Linked DNA regions of Homo sapiens: region 2 is linked to region 1. Evidence: promoter capture Hi-C in human tissues and cell types (Jung and others, 2019). All regions are on one chromosome and are shown on one strand. The core of a region is centred on a gene start or on the middle of the fragment in contact, and the rest is flanking DNA. Distances in the headings are between cores, read along the strand shown. Region 1 holds the start of SPATA32 (spermatogenesis associated 32). Region 2 overlaps LINC02210-CRHR1 (LINC02210-CRHR1 readthrough).

Region 1 (7,348 bases), core at 2,402-4,901:
CACCCACAGCCTCAACCCCTCCATAAACGGCAGCTGGGTATGGACAGGAGAAGAAATTACTGTTGTGTGAGCCTCTTAACAGCACTGGGGGCTGGGAGAAAAAGTCAGACATTGACTCAGCTTGGGACCTCGTTGCCTGACTTGAGAATGTTCTATTAGGGATTCAAGTGATATTCTGCAGTATATGAAATAATTGAAATAATTTTTTTTGAGGCAGGGTCTCACTCTGTCACCCACGCTGGAGTGTAGTGGTGTGATCTCGGCTCACTGTAACCTCCGCCTCCTGAGATCAAGCGATTCTCCTGACTCAGCCTCCTGAGCAGCTGGGATTATAGGCATGCGCCACGACGCCCAGCTCACTTTTTGTATTTTTAGTAGAGATGGGGTTTCACCATTTTGGCCAGGCTGATCTCAAACTCCTGGCCTCAAATGATCTGCCTGCCTCGGCCTCCCAAAGTGCTGGGATTACAGGCATGAGCCACCGTGCCTGGCCGAAATAATTTCAATTTCCAGTGGTTTGTTGCTAGTATACAGAAATATATCCATCTTTTGTATCCTGCAACTATACTAAAATCTTATTTGTTCTCATAGCTTTTTTTTTCTTTTAGATTCTATCGGATTTTCTACATAGACAATAATGTGTGTGAGTCAAGACACTTTTACTTCTTCCCTCCCAATCTGGTTCCTCTTATTTTCTTTACTTGCCTAATTGCACTGGGGACAATCTCCATACAATGTTGAGTAGGAGTGCGTGTGTACATCCTCGCTTCGTTCTGAGCTTAGGGGAAAGTGTTTAGCCTTTCACCATTAAGGATGATGCTAGCTGTAGGTTTCTTCATGATGCCTTTCATTAGCTTGGGCATCTTTGTGAAGTTTCGTCTCTTAGATTGCTTAGTTTTAATTAGGAATGGATGCTGGATTTTGCCTAATGCTTTTTCTGCATTTATTGAGATGATCATATGGTTTTTCTTTAATATGATATTATATATGTTATACATAACATACGTTATAATACATTAACATATGAGTAATGTTATATTATTTGAGTGATAATTCTTTTATATTTTTATATTCTGTTTATGGTAAAATACATTGTTTTTTTTGAGACAGGGTCTCACTCTGTTGCCCAGGCTGGAGTTCAGTGGCGCAATTTCAGCAACCTCAACCTCCCTGTCTCAAGTGATCCTTCCACCTCACCTCTGGAGTAGCTGGGACTACACGTGTTCACCACCACCCCCAGCTAATTTTTGTATTTTTTGTAGAGATGGGTCTTGTTATATTGCCCAGGCTGGTCTTGAACTCCTGGGCTCAAGCTATCCACCTGCCGTGGCCTCCCAAAGTGCTAGATTATAGGTGTGAGCTACCATGCCCAGCTATAAATTTATTTTTTAAAATGTTAAATCAGCCTTGCGTTACTGGGATAAACCTCATTTGGTTGTGATATATTACCCTTTTTCTATGTTGTTGAATCTGATTGGCTTTTTTTCAGAATTTTCACATGCATATTCATGAGGGATATCGGTGTATAATTTTCTTTTCTTGTAATGTCTTTGTTAGGTTTTGATAGGGAGGATGGCTTCGGCCCGGGAGGCAGACGTTGCAGTGAGCCGAGATGGTGCCATTGCACTCCAGCCTGGGTGACAGAGCAAGACTCTGTCTCAAAAAAAAAAAAAAAAGGAGATGAGGTCTCAGTATGTTGCCCAGGCTGGTCTCAAACTCCTGAGCTCAAGCGATCTTCCCATCTTGGCCTCCCAGAGTGTTGGGATTACAGGCGTGAGCCACCATGCCTGGCCTAATTTCTTACCTCAAATTCATATCTTGTATGTCCAGACTCTTAAGTGTGGCTGCCACGGTTCTGCCTGTCTGACCCCTGTCTCCCTTTCTAGTCTGTCATCTCTCCATACCCCACTCTCCTCGCCCTATTCATCCTTCATCCTTTCACCCAAATGAGAAACCTGGGTCATTTGTGACTCCTCCTCCCTCCGCAGCTACTGCCCTCCTACCCCTGATGCTGTCCTCATCTCCCAGTACCAGAGCCAGCACACACCCATGACTTCCTACCCTTTGGCACTTGGTGCTGAGTGCTTTGCACATTCAGTCTTCATACCTACCCTATGCCCAGTTGGCCACGGCTCTCCTCTCACAGATGAGGAAACGTGTATGAGGTCATGCAGCTATTAAGAGCAGCACACGACCCAAAGGCAGGTCTGGCTGGCTCCAAACTCTGGGATGCTACTCACTGCACTGTCTTAAATCTCTTTAGTCTTCCAGTGGGACCACTGCAACTATGTCCCCCTCCAACCTGGATTTTCAATGACCTCAGAGTGAGCCTGCTACATCTCACTTGTCTCCGGTTACCCCCAGACTCCATGTGGCCTCTTGGTCTGATCTCTACCTTCATTTTTCATCTCTTGGCATCCAGCTTCCTGTCCCTCACCCTAAGCCGAAGCTACCCCCAGAGTACCGCAGGCCTTTCTGCACCCAGTGCCTTTGCAAATGCTATTTCTTATACCTGGAAAGCCTTCTTCTGGCAAAGTCCTACTCATGCCTGAAAGCCCAATTCAAATAATCAGTGTAATCCTCTCCATGACAGACCTGGCTGTCTAATCTACGTTTTACCTTACAGGCGTGAGCCACTGCACCCGACCTCTGGTTTTTTTTTTTTTTTTTTTGACAGGGTCTTGCTCTGTGGCCCAGGCTGGAGTGGCAGCATCATAGCTCACTGCAACTCCTGGGCTCCAGTGAGCCTCCCAGCTCAGCCTCCCAAGTAGCTGGGACTACAGGCTCATGCCGCCACACCTGTCTAATTTTAAACATTTCCTGTAGAGGACAAAGTCTCGCTATGTTGCCTAGGCTGATCTTGAACTCCTGGCCTCATGTGATCCTCCCACCTCTGCCTCCCGAAGTGTTGGGATTGCAGGCGTTGAGCCATCATGCCCACCTAATTTTTGACCGTTTTTAATGCTGGCCCATGCCCTTCTGGGAGAGAGGATCCCCAAAAGAAAGCCACCATTTCAGTGGGGGATCTGACGCCCCTATGGGAAGGGGAGACACAGGGCACTGGGGGCAAACATCTTTGCTCATTGGTTCAGAGAAGAGTACAAGGCATCAACGAAGCGCTCCGTAAAAATGTGCTGAAGACTGCCGCTCCTCCCTGCAAAGCCTCAAGCATCAAGGAGGGACAACTGGATGTGATTTTTTGGATCTGCAGTTCAGGATAATTCATGAGTCGTTTCCTGTGCACAAGGCCATTGCTCCTTCTGTGGTCTCAGAACCCCTTCAAGAACCACTGACTCTGCAGTCCCTACTCCAAGGCGCGCATGCGTGTCCGTGAGAGCACATGGGTGTGCACCGCGCAGGGGCTGAGGCTGGGAGCCGTAGTCAGGGGCACCGGGTGGGCTTTGGCGGCGGGTCGACCTGCCTTTCAGGTGCCGGGGGTTTGGGAGCAGGGGAACGGGCCCTGGGCGGATTCCTGACCGCCCCCTTCGCGCCCCTCCCCCTCTCACTTTCGCTTTCCCCGCCTGCCCCAACCCTCGCCCCCGGGCGCTCGGCCGCTCCCACCTGTCACCCCCATGCAGACCGAGGCTCTGTCCTGGAGGCGGGGAGCGGGCTGGTGGATGCTGCCTCTCCGCCTCCAGTGTGCTCTTTGGCTGAGGGACTGGTGGGCGCTGGAAATATTAGAGGCGCCGGTGCCTGTGATGTCGCCGCCTCTGTGACGTCCCCGCCGCGACCCCACAGGCAGGGAGCCGCATTTAGGTTTCGGGCGGGCGGACGGGGGACGGCCCGAGTGAGGCGTCCTCCGAAGGCTGCGGGCCCGAAGCCAGAACTCCTTCCTCTCCGAAGACCTCGGGGGTGGGGCTCGCGCTTCCGCAGCGGGCCTAGAGCGAGAGGCAGGCGGCAGGTAAGCCTGGCTGTGCTGGACAGGACTTGCACCCGCTCTGCACGCCAGCGGCTCAGGGCTGCCGCCCTTTTCGTGGTCCCAGGGCCCTTCCAAGAACCGGCTAAACCAACCCAAGCCGCGCGCACACACACTTGTGCACACAGGGAGTGTGGAGCCAGATTCGATAAGGCACCCCGTGTGCCCCAGCTCCATGACCAAGGAACTCAGCACCCCGTGTGCCCCAGCTCCATGACCAAGGAACTCAGCACCCCGTGTGCCCCAGCTCCATGACCAAGGAACTCAGCCCACAAAGGCATCCCTGGCCCCATGCAGGGCTCAGGAGGCAGCGGAAAGGGTTAAGAGTCCAGGCCTCAAGGACAGGAGGGGAGGGTGGAGGGCCTGTGGTGTGCATCCGGCATCCCTGGATGGTCAGGGCCCAGAACCCATCCCTATTTCCCTTCTGGTGGTAGGGGGCTGCCTAACTTGGGCAGTGGCACAAAGCATGCAGGCTTTGTTGTCCTCCTCCTCCACCCCTCAGCCTGGCATATTTTGGCGAGGGACTTCCCTGATGCCACCGGGCAAGGTATCTTGCCTAACTGGTCTGAATGACTAGCCCAGCGTTGGGACTAGAAGCAGCCACTGGGAGGAGTGGTGGGAAAGCAGCCCCACTCAAGGGCTGAAACAGTCCTTGTCCAAAACAAGGGGGACTTGAAAAGATCTCAGCAAGAAGGCAAAGAGAGGCAGCTGTTAGGGTCGTGAGGTTCAGCAGGCCGGCAGGCAAGAGAGAGGACACCGATGGCCTGGAAACATTTGTCATCACCCCAAACTTTATTGCTTACAAAGAGTTCTCTACAACCCAGACTCTGCAGTACCAAGGCTGCAGTTCTTTATGTGCTGGGGGCCGGGGCTCTCTCCCCGGGAGCAGTCTGACTCAATGTGGACAGCTGGACAAAGGCTGTCTTGGCAAGATGTGGGAATGAGCTTCTCCCACGGAGTCTCGGCGTCCCCTGCCCCAGGAGGTTGAGGCTAGCAGACACCCCCTGACGATTCACAGCTGATTTAATGCTACGTGAGTCCTGAGTAGCTCCCCTGGGAGAAGAGGCTAAGCTGGGGCAATGGGGAAGGGGGTGCTATTCTTAGAGAAATCTGGAAGAGGTTTGAGGAGTCACATGCATGTGGACAGCTCAAGACTGTGTCCCTTCACCCCATCTCCTGGCTTGCTATGCTCCTACAGTGTCACTGCCCTGCCCTGCCCTGCCAGAGGGCAGCCATGAAAGTGCTTTGAGGTCATCAGAGTGCAAAGTGCCGTCGGCAGTACCCTCTGGCCAGGGGCAGGGCAGGGTGAGTGTCAGTGTGATGCTGAGCTGTGCTCTGGGGAACCAGCACGCTGGACACTGATAGTGGGGCTGGGGCGCCGGAGCGTCTCTCTCTGCTGCTTTCCTTAGCACTGATCATGTCCATCCACAGACTGTTCCTGTCAGGCATATCCTGCATCACCCTTCACCTTTACAGATGAGGGAACTGAGTGCCAGCGAGTCTGGGGCAGTGCTGGGCCTGAAGGGGCTCGGGGCCTGCTGCTCTGGGGAAGAGTGGTAGCCAGCAGCAAAGGGGCACATGTCTGGGGACTGAGAACCACTTCACTTACACACCTTCTTTGGTCCTTGGCTGAACCAGAGGTCAACTCAGGACCTGTGTTGCAACAACCTGAAAAGTGTGGTGTATTCTACCAGGGAGCCTTCCCAGGGTCAGGCATTCTTTTCCCCTACACCCAAAAGGGGTGAGCTGGCCAGGTGAGGCCAGGCAAGGGGTTTAGAGGGCCCCCTTAACCTACGGGCGGGCATACCTGCTGACCTGGTTCTGCACTGAACCTGAGTTTGGGCCCTTACACACTTGACACTCTCACAGCAGCCTGGAGGGTGAGGGGCCGAGGGGCTCGCCCACCCCTTCTGACCCAGGCTGGAAGCTGCTCTCCCCTGTCTGCCAGCAAATGGTCACTGATCCAAGCGGGTCAGGCCAACTCGACTGGAGCAGGGCAGAGAAGATCCTGTTTGTTTCCCGAGGTAACTCCTGCCATCCTCCTCTGTCTCTTCACGTGGCGGAGTGTTTTCTCAGCAGGGTGGGGCAGGGCTCAGGTGTGAAATCCTGGGAGGCATTCTGCTTGCCCCCACCTTGCTGCTGCGAGGCCCTGGTCCCACTGCTGAGCCGGGGGCTGGCAGATCCCTGGGAACGGCTGAGCCTGTGTTTCAGGGCAGCATCGTGCACCGAGCAGGAAGGCTGCTTCCGGCAGTGTGGAGCCGGCGGTGGAGGGCAGGGTTAGGGCCTGTTCTCCAGCTGGCCATGCTTGACCCTCCAGCTCCAGGCGAAGCTGCCATCAGGGGCCAGTGTGCACTGCAGGTCGATGCCCGAGTCTGGCACCTCCATGTCGTAGCGAACAGGCTGCCCGTCTTTGGTGACCAAGCTGAAGGCTGCAGCTGGGATCTAAGGGTGGAGCAAACCAGTGGGCTGAGATCATGGCATAGGGCTCAAGCCATGTAGAAAGGTAAAGACATCTCCTTCCAGCCAGACCGGCAGCCCTAAGGGCACTGCCTGTCTGTCATTCCACGGGACTCAGAGAATCCCACCCGGCTCAAGTGTAGGTCTGGAGGACCTCTTTGTCACCACTGCCAGCCTTGCTTTGAGGCCCTGGGAAATGCTTTGAGGTCCTGGGGGACGTTGAAGGCCAATTCCAAGTATTCCCTAGAGTGCCATTCTACTTCTTTGAAAGCTTTCCTCCTGGAGGGTGGGGCCAGCTGCATTGGCTTCTGGGACTCTGCCCGTCAGAGTGTACCTGCCCCCCTTACCTGGCTGCTGATGCCAGTGGCGATGTCTCCCACTTTGACCCGGTGGAACTCCCGGATGTGCAGGTGTTCACCATTAAGAGACTGTATTTGGACTTTCACACCTAGAAGGCGGACAAGGTGATAGTCAGGAGAGCGGCTGCTGGCTCCCCAAGGACCAGGGTCCTGGCAGGGGCTGGGGGAACGTTTTTGTTAAAAGTCACTCTGCCCTATGTAGGGGGAGCAGGTCTGGCTGTGATGGAGCAGCAGAGATAAAATTTAGGCTGGTCTAAGCACAGCTGCATTTTTTTGTTTTTGAGACAGAGTCTCACTGTGTCGCCCTGGCTGGAGTGCAGTGGCGTGATCTCAGTTCACTGCAACCTTTACCTCCCGGGTTCAAGTGATTCTCCTGCCTCAGCCTCTCAAGTAGCTGGGATTACAGGCATGCGCCACTATACCCAGCTAATTTTTGTATTTTTAGTAGAGACGGGGTTTCACCATGTTGGCCAGGCTGGTCTCGAACCCCTGACCTCATGTAATCCACCTGCCTTGGCCTCCCAAAGTGCTGGGATTACAGGTGTGGGCCACCACACCTGGTCACAAAGCTGCATTTTTATAAGAAAAAAAAAATTCAGGCTGGAACAGCCCTCAT
Region 2 (7,348 bases), core at 1,436-3,935, 490 kb after region 1:
CCTGGGGGTCTTCCCTAGGACGATGAAGGAGGGAGAAGCTGCCCTGGTTGTTGAGAAGCCTCAGCCCAGAATTTTCTCACCCTCATGAGGCAAATTTGTCCAACACACGCTGTGCTCTGCCCTGTGCAACATCTCAGTAATAAATGCCCAGTTTTGTGCACTGATGGCCTGTGCACCGGAGGCTTTACAGCTTGACCTCACTTGATCTGCATGGAAACTGTGAAACTGCTCTTACTCTCACCTCCATACCGATAAGGATGAAGCAGCTCAGAAAAGTCAGGTTACCTATAGGAAGTAGCAGAGCCAGGATTTGAACCCAAAGTCACTGGATACCAAAGCCCAGTGTTAACTCTTCAGTTACATTGGCTCCTTACATATCCTCTAAGAGCAGGTGCTAGCTAAGAGCAGGACTGGATGGGACTCATCCAGCTGAAAGTCTTGCTTCTTCAAACTCCAAGACTTCTCCTGGAGCTTCTCCTCCAGCCCTGTGGGAAGCTCCCGGTCCACGGTTTGGGGTGGTTGTGCCCAGCCCTGTTCATCACATGCAGCTGCATAAGTCTGGGCAGCCTCTCCCTGTTAATGAGAGCGACGAATGACTCTCATCAAGTCTGGGAGTTACTCAGCACCAGAGACAGGTCTCTGGATGTGACTTCCTTCTTAAGAGCAAATGCAAACAGTGGAATGCCTAATCTCAAAGCAAGAGGCCTGGGTGCTCGCTTGGGAACTCCCAGGGGACTCCTGAGAGCAGCTGGCCCAGTCATGGGACGGTGGGGTGGGACAGCCAGGGCTTGGGGTCTGCTCTCTAAGGGAGCCGAGGCTGCAGCAGCTGTCCTCTCCATCCCCTAGCTCCACCGGGATAATTGACGGGGAGAGTATCACCTGATGTTAAAGCCCAGTGTTTATTCCTCTGTTACGTTTCGTTCTCTCTGCCACCATCTCTCAATCCAGCCTCTTAGCATGGGTGCCCCTAGCCCAGGAGCCCTATGCTGAGCTGGCAGGTGGGTTAACGAGTCTTAATGTATAGAACTTGTGCCAACCACAGTGTCGTAGACCCCGCAGGCCTCTAAAGGCCTGTCTGCCTCCCTACCCCTATCATGGGTCAGGCCGGAACTGCAGGACTCAGCAGGCACCATGGTGGCTTGGTCTGTGCCCGTCCTACCCTCTTTGTCTGCTGTGCCCTCAGCTTTAAACCTGAGCCGGGCAGTTGTGACAAGGGAAGAGGGCTCCTTAACCACGATTTGCCAAGAGATGAAGGGCCCCTGAGGAAAGGCTTTTATTTCTGTATTTCAGTTTCACAGCTTGGGGAGATGGGAGATAGCTCATGTTCCCCTGAGGCTGCAAAAGTTCTATGACAGCCAGTCAGTGAGGCTGTTCCCGGTAATGGGAGGAGAGACATTGTCATTGAAGGGGCTGTGCCATCTCGCCTCTGGGGGAGGATGAGGCAGCAGCCCCGCTAGGACACGGGGCAGGGGACGGAATCTCAGCATGTCCGAAAGCAGGTCCAGGCAGTAGACTCGCTGTGTGCCCGGACCAGTGAGGCACTTCTCTGGGCCTCAGATCCCAGTGGGAGGAAGGAGGGAATAATGTCAGAAGTACAGAGAGTTGGTGAGAGAAGAGAGGCTGGGGAGATATCTGCAGGATGGAAGGGAGAAGGACAGGGAACTGGGAAGCAGGTAGCAGGCAAGGACTGAACAGGCCATGGTGTGCTGTCCCAGAGGCTGAAGGACCTCTCTCCATTGGCCCCATACTGCCTGCTGCTCCTGCCTCCTGGCACAGATGCCCCTGCTCTGAGAGACTGTGCAGAGAGAGCAGGTGGGTAAACAAGTCCTTATGTGTAGAATTTGTGCCAGCCACAGTGCCATAGACCCCACAGGCCTCCAGAGGCCTGCCTGCCTCCCTGCCCCACCCTACAGTGGGGGCCAATCTGCTTACATCTGTAGGATCCGCCTACCTCAATCCTGTTTCCAGATGGAGGGTATTTCTGGGGGTTGGTAGATTCTGTATCCAGTCACCTGTTATCTTCTTAGTTCTTTGAAACCCAACCTTCACCTTGGTCCCAGTTCCAGTCTTGGGTTTGGATCCCAGCTCTACAGCCGTCTACGTCTACACCTACCTTCTGCCGTGAGCCCCAAGTCCCTCTTTTTTTGAAATGATCATAGTAGTAGTGCCTCTCTCTTAGGGATCTTTGAGGATTAAATGAGATAACTGGAGCTCCCAGCAAAATACCCAGACATAGGGGTTCCATGATGGCTAGATCACTTCTCCCTCACCCCTCTCAATTAGCCTCTTTGGGTTGCGCTTGTTTCCAGAGGCCTGGGCCAGACAGTTAATAGTTAGGGTGTGTGGAGTGACTGCCCACTGCTGCCTTCAGCAGTAAAGGCGAGGGGAGGAACAAGAGCTGTCATTTATTGGACACTTTCAGAGGGCCAGACCATTGGCATGCAAGCATCATCATCCTCACACCAACCCTGTAAGGAGGATTTTATGAGCCCCTTTTTAGAGATGAGCAGACAGAAGCCCAGGCTTCTTGAATACCCTGCCTGGATCCCATAGCCAGTGAGTGGTGGAGACTGAATTCAGATCCAGCCCCCATTCCCAAGCCGGCTGGGCCCTTGCCACTGTCCCACTCAGTAAGACACAGTGACACTCAGGGGCTGGGTGGCCAAAGGCCACCGGTACCAGGTGAAGAGCACCTATTCTGGAGGCAAAGTCCTCAAATTATCAAAGCTAGGGCAGCAAAGCATGCTCAGATGAACACAGAAACCCAGAGGGGGACAAGGCAAATTATTCCAGGGACCCAAGACCTGCAGGGACGGAAGACTGGTGGGTGGAGACCCAGGTACAGCAGCACCCACAGGACACGGTGCTCCCTGTAGTGCAGGGAAACGCTGGAGAAGCCGGGCCAGCGTGCCCGGGAATGCGGAGGGAGAGGGCCTGTGCTCCTCCTTCTGAGAAACACATGGTTTCCCCAATCTAACAGCGGCCAAAAGGAAAAACTATGTACTCTACAAAATCCACAGTATACACACGACCCGCCAACATTTCAGCATCATCTCTCCGAGAGATCTCTCCCAGAATCCCGCGAAAGAGCCAGGCAACACGCACACTTGCCCAAGGTCAAAGACACTATTCCAGGTATGAATTTTATGGGTAACCAGATGACACTTGAAGCGGCTCAGAAGTTGGCGTGAGAAAAGTCCCCAGTTGTTATTACTTAGTGCGGCCTGGGAGGAAGAAAGGATTCTTTGTAGAGCAATGAAAAGGACCCAGATAGAGGCAAGCCCCTGCCCTCCTGAGCAGAAATCGTCTTTTCCATCAACAGTTTGTGCTCTGCACCGCCCAGCCTCATTGTTCTGTGGCATTCCGCCGGGGGCAAGAACACATTGGGATGCCTCGCCTTCTCAGCACACCGCTGCCTGGATTTCTGTGCAAGGACTTGAATGTAGATTTATCCTAGTCGTCATTATTTAGAAATATTTTGACAAAGTAGTTTATTTAAAGGTACTATGAGTCCCCTCCCTGTTTTTTGCTGTTTATCTTTTCTTTTAAATTTTCTCCCAGAAACAGTGTAATCCTCTAACACAGTTTGCATTGTAAGGCCAGGACAACAACACTGAAATGCAGCGGTGGGGGCCAGGTAGACACATAGGGCACATATCCCCAAGAGAGGCATAAATCCAGGTGGCCGCCAGCACCGAGGGCTCCAAGGCCTGCCATGGCCACAGCCCCTGGGGTATGCTCCTCTCCATCCTCCACCTCCATCTGGGCCAGCACCTGGGCTCTGGTGGTGAGGTGCTAGGACCTCTTTCCACTCCAGAGGGCCAGGGACCAGGATACTCAATAAGGATGTGTTGAGGAGCTGGGGGTATCTGGTGCAGAAGACCAATGAGTCCAGTCGAGGAGCGCTGATTCAGGAAACAAAACACCCAAAATGTCAAAGCCAGGACAGCAAGGCGTAAAAGAGACCGTCTCGACCTTGAAGGGTTTACATTTCCAGCTAAGTAGGTGAGACAAGCATTCTGACATGTTACTGAGGCTGCGGCCTCCATGCAGAAGGCAGTGACAGTGACAGGAAGGTTGTCAGGTTGACTAACATGGGAGAGGGGGTAAAACACACAGCTGCTGCCCTCAGGTGAGTGGCAGCTGGCGGGGGGTGGCATGATCCCAGCATGGCTGCCTTCCATTCTCTCCTTTTCAGTGTCACTTGTCACTCCTCCCGTTGAGGGGTGGAATCTGTGCCTCCCCTCTGCTTGAATCAGGGCTTCTCCCTAGTGATTTGCGCAACCTATAAAATGTGGCGGAAGTGATGTTCAGGATTTCTAAGGCAACGTCCTAAGAACCTTGCAGCTTCTGCCTGGAACTCTAGAGACTCTTGGCACCCAGAGACCTCCATGCAGTGAGGAAGCCCAAGGTGGCCACGAGGAGAGACTGTAGGGGGAAGAGGGTGGAGACCTGTCTGGCCCCCCATTCCTGTTCCCAGCCATTTGAGCCATCCGAGCTTCAGCCATAAACATCCAGGGGCAGAGAGGAGCCATTCCCTCTGTGCCCTGTCCAGGTTCCTGATCCACAGAATCGTGAGACATGATAAAAGCAAAGTATTGTTTTAAGGCACTGAGATTGGGGTTATGTGTGCCATACGTACATCCACAGATAACCAGAACTGGGTGAGGGGACATATGCCAGGGCCAGGGACTCTGTTGACCCAACCCTTTCTCCTTGAGACCACACCTGCCCTCTCTGGCCCCAGACTCCTCCACCATGGCCTCCCTAAGTGCTGACACTCCCATCCCTGGGACCAATCCCAATGCCTGGGCACTTCCATCCCTGGGACCAATCCCAATGCCTGGGCACTTCCCCTTTGAACCCCAATTTGAGAGCAGATTTGCTGCTGAGGTTGGGGGGGAACTAGGGGAACCCCGGGACGGGACAAAGATTCTGGGTAACCACCTCTGGGGCAGGTGTGGGGAGACTGGCCGGGGCAAGGAAGTGGCTGCACAGGGGAAGGAGTGAGCCGTGTGCGCATGGATGGGGGAAGGAGTGAGCCGTGTGCGCATGGATGGGGGAAGGAGTGAGCCGTGTGCGCATGGATGGGGGAGGGAGTGAGCCGTGTGCGCATGGATGGGGGAGGGAGTGAGCCGTGTGCGCATGGATGGGGGAAGGAGTGAGCCGTGTGTGCTCGTGGCTGTGTGCCTTCCTCCATGGAAGAGCTCCCTCGTGCCTGTCTTCCAGAACTCAGGTCCAGCGTTTCCAGCCACCTGCTGGACTCTCCTCAGAACCTCCCACAGGCCCCCCAAATCCAGCACATCTCAAACCAGAACCTGCTCTAAACCCACCCCCAAGGCAATTCCCTGTCATTCCCTATTTCTGCCAAGGGTGCTGAAGTCACCAGGGCCCGTCCAGGTGTGGGCAGCCAACCCTCTAGTGGAGCTGGAGCAGCAATACCTTGCCCACATGGCAGGTGGAGATAGGGGGACCTGTGGGTAGGGACTGAGGTGGGAAGAGTTGTGGCGAAGGAGGTGGGCAGAGCCTGGCCAAGCTCATAGGCAGCCCTAGGATTCCTCCCGGAGAGGTAAGGGGCTTTGGGCTGTGTCCTGGGGGCTGGAGATACCCACAGGAGGCTAACAATAGCTCATCCAGCCTCAGCATCCTCTCTGCCTCTTTGCCACCCCCTTTTGCTCCTGGAGCAGCCATAGGGAAACCCTGCAGCTTCCAGCTCTGCAGGGCCCTCATTCCCCTCCTTCCCCTTCCACTCCACCCATCGCCCGCCCCCACCTCCCCTAAGCCCAGCCTCCTACCACCCCCACACCCATTTGACCCTTTCTCTTCCCCCCTTCCCCTCAAGGCTGCCGACCCGCTGCCCACTGTGGGAGCCAGCTGCCGCCTGTGGCTGGGGACACTGGGAAGGGGGCTGGTGCCACTGGGGAACTACACTTTTAATTTGATTTGCATTAACCTAGATTTTAAAACTGATAATCAATTCGGTTATTGAAAAACTTTTAGGCTGGGTGTGGTAGCCTAAAAGGTGGGAGGATTGCTTGAGGCCAGGAGTTTGAGACCAGCCTGGACAACATAGCATGATCTCATTCCTACAAAAAATAAAAAAATGAGCCAGGCATGGTGGTGCACGCATGTAGTCCCAGCTACTTGGGAGGCTGAGGTGGGAGGATCGCTTGAGACCAGGAGTTTGAGTCTGCAGTGAGCCATGATTTTGCCACTGCACTCTAGCCTGGGTGATAGAGCAAGAACCTGTCTCAAACAACAACAACAAAAACCCTTTTAAATATGTTTGGAACAACTTGGGTATGTGAACCTACCTTTTCGACTGTAAATTTAACAAAATCTAACTGCAGATCTAGCTTATCCAGTGAAATCCTTGTGTGTGAATTAGCGCCCCCATAGTTGCCATATGTATAAAAGAAAGCAAAAAAAAGAATAACATTCTCATTAATAATTTTTATTGATTACATGTTGAAACGATCATATTTAGGATCTATTGAGCTAATACAATAAGCAAAAATATATCTTAAAATTGATTTCATCTGTTTTCTGTTTACTTTTCAATGTGGCTACTGGAAAATTTAAAATTATATACACGGCTGGAGTTCTGTTTCTATCGGACAGCACTTCTTTAGAGCGTGGATCTGCACTCGATCAACAATTCAGCCCTGTGCTGTCCCTGGCTAACCCTTTCCCACCTCCGCCACTTCCTCAGGCTCAATCGCAGCTGCCTTGGGCTCATGTATGGCTGATACCTGGGTGCTGACCTTGGTATAACACACACATGTTTGCAAATACATGTGTGTATTTGTGTGTCATGTGCACGCCTGTCTCTATCCACATGCTCATGTGTACACATCTGCATCCAGACATTATCCTGTTCTCTGCGTGTGAGCACACTCGGGCCAGCCCTTGCTGGACCAGGTGTGCACAGGCAGCATCTGAATGGGAGCCGGGTGCCCATGGGGAGTTGACATGGGGACAGGGCCTCGGGCATAAAGCCTTGGGGCCAGTCATTCATCCCCAGGGGAGGCTGGAACAGACAGTGTTTCCTTGGCAAGTTGATGAGAATGTCATGTAGGACAGAACCCACAGCCGCCCTGAAATCAAGATCGATGACAGCTGCCTTCCCATCCCTTACTGATGAGGTCCATCATTCTATCACGGGAGAGAAAATTAAATTGGTCTGGCAGAGTTTCCTGTTCCTAAAGCCAATTTGGTCGCCACTGTGTAGTGTGTTATACACTTCTGGGTGGCATCTAATCATTTTGTTTATTCATAAATTTCCAAGGTATGGTCTGCAGAGCTAACCACACCACAGGAAATCAGGAGGAGGTACTTGCTCCTCTTC

Evidence for each region. The method cuts DNA at HindIII sites, captures the fragments that hold promoters and counts their contacts. A contact is called where the count stands out against the background at its distance.
Region 2: a contact is called between a fragment that was not itself captured here and the fragment with the promoter of SPATA32 in region 1, in 1 of the 25 tissues and cell types used here (dorsolateral prefrontal cortex).

What each region holds. Positions count from the first base shown.
Region 1 is chr17:45,258,443-45,265,790 of GRCh38, forward strand. SPATA32 (spermatogenesis associated 32) reads right to left here and starts at 3,652. Exons shown (of 5, transcript NM_152343.3): 1 at 3,562-3,652. The coding sequence starts at 3,574. It overlaps MAP3K14 (mitogen-activated protein kinase kinase kinase 14), which reads right to left. Exons shown (of 16, transcript NM_003954.5): 15 at 6,721-6,821; 16 at 4,677-6,358. The coding sequence ends at 6,194. All of the region lies in intron 2 of MAP3K14-AS1 (MAP3K14 antisense RNA 1), which reads left to right. RefSeq lists silencers at 3,296-3,415, 3,486-3,535 and enhancers at 3,484-4,089, 3,566-3,655, 4,090-4,693. The HindIII fragment of the contact is 11,872 bases long and covers 1-7,150 here.
Region 2 is chr17:45,748,352-45,755,699 of GRCh38, forward strand. The region is part of intron 3 of LINC02210-CRHR1 (LINC02210-CRHR1 readthrough); the gene reads left to right. Among named protein-coding and RNA genes, the nearest start is that of CRHR1, 32 kb to the right of the region's middle. RefSeq lists an enhancer at 3,282-4,193. The HindIII fragment of the contact is 8,319 bases long and covers 1-6,845 here.